Linked DNA regions of Homo sapiens: region 2 is linked to region 1. The links are contacts of gene promoters, found by promoter capture Hi-C in blood cells and fetal thymus (Javierre and others, 2016). All regions are on one chromosome and are shown on one strand. The core of a region is centred on a gene start or on the middle of the fragment in contact, and the rest is flanking DNA. Distances in the headings are between cores, read along the strand shown. Region 1 holds the start of CRLF2 (cytokine receptor like factor 2). Region 2 holds the start of LINC03112 (long intergenic non-protein coding RNA 3112).

Region 1 (4,642 bases), core at 712-3,211:
CTCATCATTTAGCAGAGAGCAAGAATTCCGGGCTTAGAAAGTTAGCATGTCATATTTTTTTTTTTTTTTTGAGACAGAGTCTCGCTCTGTCAACAAGGCTGGAGTGCAATGGTGTGACCTTGGCTCGCTGCAACCTCTGCCTCCTGGGTTCAAGCGATTCTCCCCGTCTCAGCCTCCTGAGTAGCTGGGATTACAGGTGCGTGCCACCACGCCTGGCTAATTTTTGTATTTTTTTTTTTAGTAGAGACAGGGTTTCGCCATGTTGGCCAGGCTGCTCTGTGATATGCTTTCAAGCAAAGCTCAGGCCAGGTGCGGTGGCTAACGCCTATAATCCCAGCACTTTGGGAGGTCGAGGCGGGTGGATCACCTGAGTCCAGGAGTTTGAGACCAGCCTGGTCAACATGGTGAAACCCCGTCTCTATGAAAAATACAAAAATCAGCAGGGTGGGTGGCATGCATCTGTAATCCCGGCTACTAGGGAGGTTGAGGCAAGAGGATTGCTTGAGCCAAGCTGTTTGAGGCTGTGGTGAGTCCTGATTGCACCACAACACTCCTGCGTGGGTACCAGACGAACACCTTGTCTCAAAGAATAGGAAAGAAAAGCTGGGCACGGTGGCTCACGCCTATAATCCCAGCACTTTGAGAGGCTGAAGCGGGCCGATCACTTGAAGTCAGGAGTTTGAGACCAGCCTGGCCAACATGGTGAAACCCCATCTCTACTAAAAATATAAAAATTAGCCAGGCGTGGTGGTGGGCGCCTGTAATCCCAGCTACTCAGGAGGCTGAGGCAGGAGAATCGCTTGAACCCGGGAGGAGGAGGTTGCAGTGAGCCAAGATCGTGCCACTGCACTCCAGCCTGGGTGACAGAGAGTGAGACTCCAGCTCAAAAAAAAAGAAAGGAAAAGCAAGAGAAAGGAAGGGGAGGTGGGGAGGGGGAGGGGAGGAGAGGGGAGGGGGAGGGGAGGAGACGGAAGGGGGAGGGAGAGGGGAGGGAGGAGGGGGTGGGGGGAGGGGGGAGGGGAAGGGAGGGGAGGGGATGTACACATCTACGTATCCATCTATGCATGCATCCATCCACCCATCCACCTATGTATCTGTTCATCCATTTATCCATCCATCCACCCACCTATCCACACATCCTTTCATCCACTTATCCATCCATCCATATACCATCCATGGAGGGGAGGGGAGGGGATAGGTGGAGGGGGTGGGGGAAGGGAGGGGGACAAAAGATGAGGGGATGGGAGGGGGATGGGAAGGGAGGGGGTGGGGTGGGGGGGAAGGGGAAGGGAGGGGAAGGGAAAGGAAGGGAAGGGAGGGGAGGGAAGGGGGAGGGGAGGGAAGGGGGAGGGGAGGGGGAGGGGAGGTGGGGAGGAGGAGGGGAGGGGAGGAAAGGGAAGGGGGAGGGGGAGGGGAGGGAGGAGGGGGTGGGGGAGAGGCAGAAGGGAAGGGAGGGGAGGGGAGGGGATGGAGGGGAGGGGAGAGGGGAGGGGGAGGGGAAGTGAAAGGAAGGGAAGGGAGGGGAGGGGAGGGGGAAGGGGAGGGGAGAGGGGGAAGGGGAGGGGAGAGGGGAGGGGAGGGGAAGGGAAAGGAAGGAAAGAGAGGGGAGGGGAAGGGGGAGGGGAGGGGAGTGGGGAGGGAATGGAGGGGAGGGGAGGGGAGGGGGAGGGAGGGAAGGGAATGGAGGGGAGGGGGAGGAGATGGGGGAGGGGGAGGGAAGGGGAGGGCTCAGCTCAGCAGTGTGCGTGGCAGTCCTGATCCTGGATTGATTGTGTGTGTGTGTGTGTGTGTGTGTGTGTGTGTTCTTGACAAGTGTATCTTTGAAAATCAACTGTCACTGTGCTTCCTGCCTGTAATCATTTCCCTAGTTTCCTTTCTGACTTTTTAAAATCGATGGTGACCTCTGCTTATGAGTCATGAGTGATCTGTTCGTTGTAGGTCCCTGAGGACCTCACTCTCCACTCCTGTTTCAGGCATGGGGCGGCTGGTTCTGCTGTGGGGAGCTGCCGTCTTTCTGCTGGGAGGCTGGATGGCTTTGGGGCAAGGAGGAGCAGGTAATTATTTAAACACCCTCTTCTTGTTGTATTTTGGTTTGTGGTTTGCTTTGCAACCAGGCACTCTTTATTTTGTAAAACTTAAACAATGAGCATGGAGGTTTCTTTCTTCTTTTCTTTTTTTTTTTTTTTTTTTTCCGGGTTCAAGCAATTCTCCTGCCTCAGCTTCTCAAGTAGCTGGGACAAAACATATTTATAAGTAAATACATGAATATTAAGTATACTTATTGCTCCCGGAATATCCACTGCTTATATGAGCTTTCGGTGGCCAGAACTAGGAACTGTATGTGTGCGTGTGTGTGTCTATCTATTGATTGATTGATTGGTAGATATATTCATTTTTAATCTATCCATCAATGTATCTCATCTATCTTTTCCCATTAATCACCCATCCATCCACTATCCATCCATCTATTATTCATTGATCCATCCACTAATATATCCATCCACCCATCTATCAAACGATTCATCCACTCATACATTCACCCACCCATCAACCCACCCAGCCATCCGTCCACCCAACCTTTCATTCACTCATCCATCCATCCACCATCCACCCAGCTGTTATCTATCCATCCTCCCATCCACCCATCTATCATCCATCCATCCATCCATCCACCCATCCACCCATCCATCCACCAATACATCCATCCATCCATCCACCCATCCACCCATCCATCTACCAATACATCCATCCATCCATGCATTCACCCACACTTTTATCCACTTATCCATCCATCCATCCATCCACCCATCCATCCACCAATACATCCATCTATCCATGCATTCACCCACACTTTTATCCACTTATCCATCCATCCATCCATCCATCCACCCATCCACCCATCCATCCACCAATACATCCATCCATCCATGCATTCACCCACACTTTTATCCACTTATCCATCCATCCATCCATCCACCCATCCATCCACCAATACATCCATCTATCCATGCATTCACCCACACTTTTATCCACTTATCCATCCATCCATCCATCCACCCATCCATCCACCAATACATCCATCTATCCATGCATTCACCCACACTTTTATCCACTTATCCATCCATCCATCCATCCATCCACCCATCCACCCATCCATCCACCAATACATCCATCTATCCATGCATTCACCCACACTTTTATCCACTTATCCATCCATCCATCCATCCATCCATCCATCCATCCATCCATCCACCCATCCACCCATCCACCCACCAATACATCCATCTATCCATGCATTCACCCACACTTTTATCCACTTATCCATCCATCCATCCATCCATCCATCCATCCACCCATCCATCCACCCACCCACCCATCCATGTACACATCTACGTATCCATCTATCCATGCATCCATCCATCCATCCATCCATCCATCCATTCACCTATGTATCTGTTCATCCATTTATTTATCCACTGACTCACTCATCCACCCACCCATCCTTTCATCCACTTATCCATCTATCCATCCATCCACCAACACATCCATCCACCCACCCATCAAACCATCCATCCACCTATGCATTCACCCACACTTTCATCCACTCATCCATCCATCCATCCACCCATCCATGTACACATCTATGTATCCATCTATCCATGCATCCATCCACCCATCCACCCATTCACCTGTGTATCTGTTCATCCATTTATTCATCCATCCACTCACCCATCCACCCACCCATCCACTTGTCTTCCACCTATACACCCACCTGTCCATTGATTCATCCATCTACCTACCCATCCCTATCTATCTGTGTCTGTCTGTCTAACTATTTCTATCATCATCTATATAATTCTATCTATCTAACATTACCATTTATCTATCTATCTGTATCTATCTATCCTCCAGATACCTCCACTTAGAACCCAACATGACAAGGTTCACTGTACCCCATCTTTCCAAACCTGTAACTGACTTCTTTGACAGTGAGAGACTTGGCCGGGCGCTGTGGCTCATGCCTGTAATCCCAGCACTTTGGGAGGCCGAGGTGGGCGGATCACAAGGTCAGGAGATGGAGACCATCCTGGCTAACACGGTGAAACCCCGTCTGTACTAATACAAAAAATCAGCCGGGCATGGTGGCAGGTGCCTGTAGTCCCAGCTACTTGGGAGGCTGAGGCAGGAGAATGGCATGAACCCGGGAGGCAAAGCTTGCAGTGAGCCGGGATCGCACCACTGCACTCCAGCGTGGGCGACAGAGCGAGACTCTGTCTCAAAATAAAAAAAAGAGACTTGGCTTTCATTATGCAAAATATCATTACATGTTTGCTCAATTCTAAAATATTTCCATTGTCCCTGTTCGGAATTACAAACCCAGACCTCTTGAAACATCAAACCTACTGAAGTCTATGCAACCTTCCTAGCAAACGTAGAAAGTCTTCTTTACGGTTGGCCCATTTCTTTTCTTTTCTTTTCTTTTCTTTTCTTTTCTTTTTTTTTTTTGATAGGGAGTCTTGCTGTGTCACCCAGGCTGGAGTGCAGTGACACGATCTCGGTTCACTACAACCTCTGCCTCCTGAGTTCAAGCCATTCTCCTGCCTCAGCCTCCCAGGTAGCTGGGATTACAGGTACCCACCAC
Region 2 (4,642 bases), core at 1,019-3,518, 1.4 Mb before region 1:
CAATAGCAAAATGATTCTCAATTTAAAAGGAAAAAAAGTTACAAAAAGCAGGATATCCACACAAACATAAGACACCATAAAAAAATAAACATACCACTTGTAAAACATTCCTGTTAAAAATATTCAAAGGCAAAAATAAAGTGCAAAACCATTTTCATAATAAGTGGCTGGTAATCTTTAATATTGATAAATCACTGAAGAAGGCTCATACATCAGTAGGTAGGGAGGCTGAGGCAGGCAGAACATCTGAGGTCAGGAGTTCCAGACCAGCCTGGCCAACATGGTGAAACCCCATCTCTACTAACAATACAAAAATGAGCTGGGCCTGGTGGCGGGCACCATGAATTGAAGGATCAAAGCCAAAGCATCCAATACACAAAAGAAGAAGTCTCCGTGGCCCATTGGGATGCATTATGCTTTTTACATTTCAGAATGAGAGATGTAAAACTAAGACCGGTTTGATATAATAATTACACTATTTGACAAAGGTTTTGTAGGTGATAATTGCTACTGGAAAAGGTTCGAAGACAGGGACATTTGCAGACACCCTGGTATCAAATCAAATTGGTGCAATTCTGGGGCAAACAACCAACCAGGTTAAAAGCTATAAAAGTACTCATGAGCATTGATCTAGACAATTTGAATGCCAGAAATCTCTTCAAAGGAATGAAAAAGAGTAGACAAAGTTGACTCAAATTGGCTTTGTAATTCATAATTCTAAAATGTCAGAAGACACAATGTTTTCAACATTAGGGATTAAAGGAATTAATGTATTTTATTATATATTTAGATAGAATAGTATTTGTCAGTAAATGTCATATGATAGAAATGAGAAAACATGAGAAAATGTGAATTAATATTCTTATGAATAAGTATAAAATAAAGTTACAATAAACAATATAGAGACCACCCGTAGGGTTAGAGGCTCTTACCAGTGAAACCAGGTCGGTTGGGGTTTGGATCTGGCTTTGGTTTGGGGGCATTAGGTGGTGCTGGGTCACCTGTTTGTAAAACATGAGAGTTGCAATCATCAGTACCTAGTAGTCAAGAAAATGAAAAATCAATTTCCATAGCGACCAGAAAATGAAAAATCAATTTTGATAGCGACCAGAAAAGAAAATGAAAAATCAATTTCCACAGCGACCAGAAAATGAAAAATCAATTTCCATAGCGATGAGAAAAGAAACTGAAATATCAATTTGCACAGAGACTGTTCACTAAACAGGTAAAAACTGGCCCTTGTTTTTGTCATGGTGGGGATACCCATACACGTAGCCTCCTGCCAATTCCCTTCTGTTGTCTTCCAGGTACAGGATTTAACTTCAAGTATTTTCAAAGAAAACTAAACCAGGTGTGCAGACCACCTCCAGAATTTGGGAGGGCCTGTGAAAATGAAAATGTGCGACCCATTGTTCCAACTGTATGAAGAATCTGAAGATGGCAGCAACACAGCAATAAAGCAGCATGGCACCCTTGTGTGCACAGGTCCCTGTGTGACTGCGCAGATCTATGCCCACGAGGCCTGACCTGGCCAAGGGAGTCACATTTGCCTTACGTTGTTCCAAAGACTAACCATTTTAAAATAAAAGCCAGCATACTGGCTGGGCGTGATGGCTTGCACCTATAATCCCAGCACTTTGGGAGGCCAAGGTGAGTGCATAGCTTGAGTTTAGGAGTTAGAGACCAGCCTGCTCCACATGGCAAAACCCAGCCCCTACTAAAAAGACAAAAATTAGCCGGGCGTGGTAGTGGGTGCCTGTAATTCCAGATGCTCAGGAGGCTGAGGCACAAGAATCGCTTAAGCCCAGGAGGCGGAGGTTGCGGTGAGCCGAGATCGCGCCACCGCACTCCAGCCTGGGCCACAGAGTGAGACTCTGAACCTACACTTCAAAAAAAAAAAAAAACAAAAAAAACAAAAAAACCAGCATGCTGGTAACAAAAAAAAAATATATCAAAAATCCAACAACAAAAATAAACAACACATATACTTCCTATGTTCCCACTGTCCAAACTCAATCCATTTATCACGCAAAAGAGATGTCTTGAAAATGATAATAATTCAATGACAATCAGCAAAGTCAGCAACAGAGGAGACTTTAAAAAGTTACTCACTGTTTCCTCCATCAGGAAAGGCATCGCTAAGTCAAAGTCAGCCCTTAAAGGAGGGAAATGAGCTGTTAATACCAATGTTCTGAGAAATGAGGAAGGAATGACCCAAAAACAGGTGGAGAAAACACCACGGCCCCACGTTTCTAAATACTTCAGAAAACGTGAATTCCTATCTTCTCATCACTCTTCCCTCAGGTGAAAACAGTAAAAGATGAGCATGAGACAGAAAAAGAGGGAGTAAGAGAGAGAGAGGAGAGAGAAAGAGGGGGAGAGAGGAGATAGAGGAGAGAAAGAGGAGAGGGAGGAGAGGGGGGAGAGAGAGAGGAGATAGATGAGAGAGGCGGGAGAGAGACAAGAGAGAGAGGAGAGAGAAGGAGAGAGTGAGGAGATAGAGAGAGGAGAAAGGCGAGAGACAAGAGAGAAGGAGACAGGAGAGAGAGAGATGGGAGAGAGAAAAGAGGAGAGAGAGGAGAGGAGAGAGAGAGGAGAGAGGAGAGGAGAGAGAGACGAGAGAGAAAAGGAGAGAAAGAAGAGGGGGAGAGAGAGAAGAGGGGGAGAGAGAGAAAAGGGGAGAGAGGAGAGAGGTGAGAGAGAGGCGAGAGAAAGAGGAAAGAGGGGAGAGAGAGGGAGAGAGGAGAGTGAGGAGAGAGAAAAGCGAGAGAAAGAAGAGAGAGAAGAGAGAGAGGGAACAGGAGAGAAGAGAGAGAGAGGAGAGGAGAGAGAGAGGAAGAGGGAGAGAAGAGGAGAGAGAGAAAGGAAAGAGAAGAGAGGAGAGACAGAAAGAGAAGAGAGACTGCAGTATCCATAAGATCCATAAGAACGTCACCAGGGTTGGGGGGGAATCGGATGCCACCTCTTCCCCAGGTTCCCCTAAATTTAAGAGTTTGCGATTCTGCAAACTGTAGAAGGAAAATTAAAACTTGGAACCCCAGTTCACTCTGCCAAAATAATTAATAATAATAATAATAAAGCTGGAAGCTGAGTCAGGCAGGAAGCTGTCTTTCCTTCTGTTCCCAAGCAGACAGTGCAATAACTCTCTGTTGACCTTATCTTAGTAAAGTGCCAATTTAGTGAGCGCAAGACAAATACATAATTGACTATTCTACCTGCTGCTTTTCTTTTGCAACAGGTGAATTCGGTAAAATGAGCCTTCCTCCTTCTTTCCCCTCCAGCGTGCTTTCCCCCTTTAAATACCGAAGCTCTCAATAGTATCTTTGGAGAAAGGCATAGACCCGTCTCCCGGGCTCCTTCCTGATCTTCGCCGAATCAACTCAAAAGGATTGGGACTTGTCCCAGATACTTTTTGGTTTACGAAAGAAACGCTGGCTTTTTCCTCTGAAACGGCTCCCACCTGGCCCCAGGAAGAGCGCTGGGGAGAAAGTGGGCGCCTCCTCCGGACCTGGGTCCCCGTGGGCACAGCGCGTCCCGCCGGGCACGGAAGAGGGGCCGGGTGTCCCCGCGGGGCGCCCCGCCCCTGCACCCCACATCCCCAGGCGGATCCCCAGGCCCAGCCCGCGCCACCCCCCGCGTCCTCCCACCCGGATCCCGCCGCTCGCTCACCGGGGCGGCCACCAGACGGCGGAGCAGGCCGAGGAGCCGCAGCGCCAGCACGGCCCCGCGCGCCACGGCGCGCCCAAGGCGAGCAGAGATCGTCCGCGAGTGCAGCGCGCGGGCGAAGGCGGCGGGACGGAACCTCCCCCACGGGCCGGGTGGGGCGGAGCCCGCGGAGGACTCGAAGGGGTTGGGTGAGGGGAGCAGCCCTGCAAACTCAGCCCAGGCTGCGCCTGCCCCGCCCCGCCCCACCCCGGCCTCCACTGGCGCACGGAAGGGGAGGGAACGCCGGGCCCGGGGAGGGGACAGAGGAGGGGGCGGGCGGAGGTGGCTCGGGCCGCGCCGAGGGGACCACGGGACGCCCTCCTTCCCTTCTCAGGAAACTGTGAGTGCCCCCCGCCCACAAGCCCGTCGCCAGGATGCCGCCAACTAGAGCAAAGTGAAACCCCCAACATTCTCGGGAAAGTGCGGGTCCCTCCCTCTCTACAGCCCCTTAAATGCACGCCCCAGGGCGGCCCCTACCTGGAGCCAAGAGAAACCGCTGCCCTTCTTGGAGAGGTGTGGGCCTCTCCGCGCCCGCCCTTGCTGTCCCCTCTCTGTTCCTAACAGGCACCCCCCCCAGGCAGCCCCAACGGGGAGGAAATGAAACTCTTCCTGCTCCTCTGCTCGGAAAACTATGGGGCCCCCTTCCAGCTGCTCACGGGGCGCTCAGGGCGATCCCCAAGGGGTGCAAAGTGCAATCCCCTCCCTGCTTAGAAAGGCGTAGGCCTTGACAGGCAGCCACGGCCCCTGGTCCTTTCTGGAGCGTCCGAGCTGGGGGCGCTCAGTGGTGAAAGATGGCGGGGGTGGGGGGCTTTGAGACACACTGCGGATACCCGCTCTGCGCGGGACCAAGGACGTTCTGCCGCAAGCTCAGAGACAGGGTTGGGAGTGAGGACTTGTGGTCGTGGTTTGGGGTTGGGGGTAAGACCCCTATCTGGGT

What was found. Contacts are between HindIII fragments. The CHiCAGO score rates a contact against its expected background, and 5 or more counts as called.
Region 2: a fragment that was not itself captured here is called in contact with the fragment with the promoter of CRLF2 in region 1 in 3 of 17 cell types (total B cells, non-activated CD4 T cells and naive CD8 T cells); the score reaches 6.7 in total B cells.

The regions. Positions count from the first base shown.
Region 1 is chrX:1,209,968-1,214,609 of GRCh38, reverse strand. It overlaps CRLF2 (cytokine receptor like factor 2), which reads left to right and starts at 1,961. Exons shown (of 8, transcript NM_022148.4): 1 at 1,961-2,054. The coding sequence starts at 1,976. The HindIII fragment of the contact is 4,372 bases long and covers 1-4,216 here.
Region 2 is chrX:2,608,509-2,613,150 of GRCh38, reverse strand. It overlaps LINC03112 (long intergenic non-protein coding RNA 3112), which reads left to right and starts at 3,984. Exons shown (of 2, transcript XR_001755779.3): 1 at 3,984-4,045. MIR6089 (microRNA 6089) reads right to left here and starts at 3,960; the gene lies at 3,897-3,960. It overlaps LINC00102 (long intergenic non-protein coding RNA 102), which reads left to right. Exons shown (of 2, transcript NR_037842.1): 2 at 1-160. It also overlaps the pseudogene CD99P1. RefSeq lists an enhancer at 4,089-4,613. The HindIII fragment of the contact is 6,762 bases long and covers 1-4,642 here.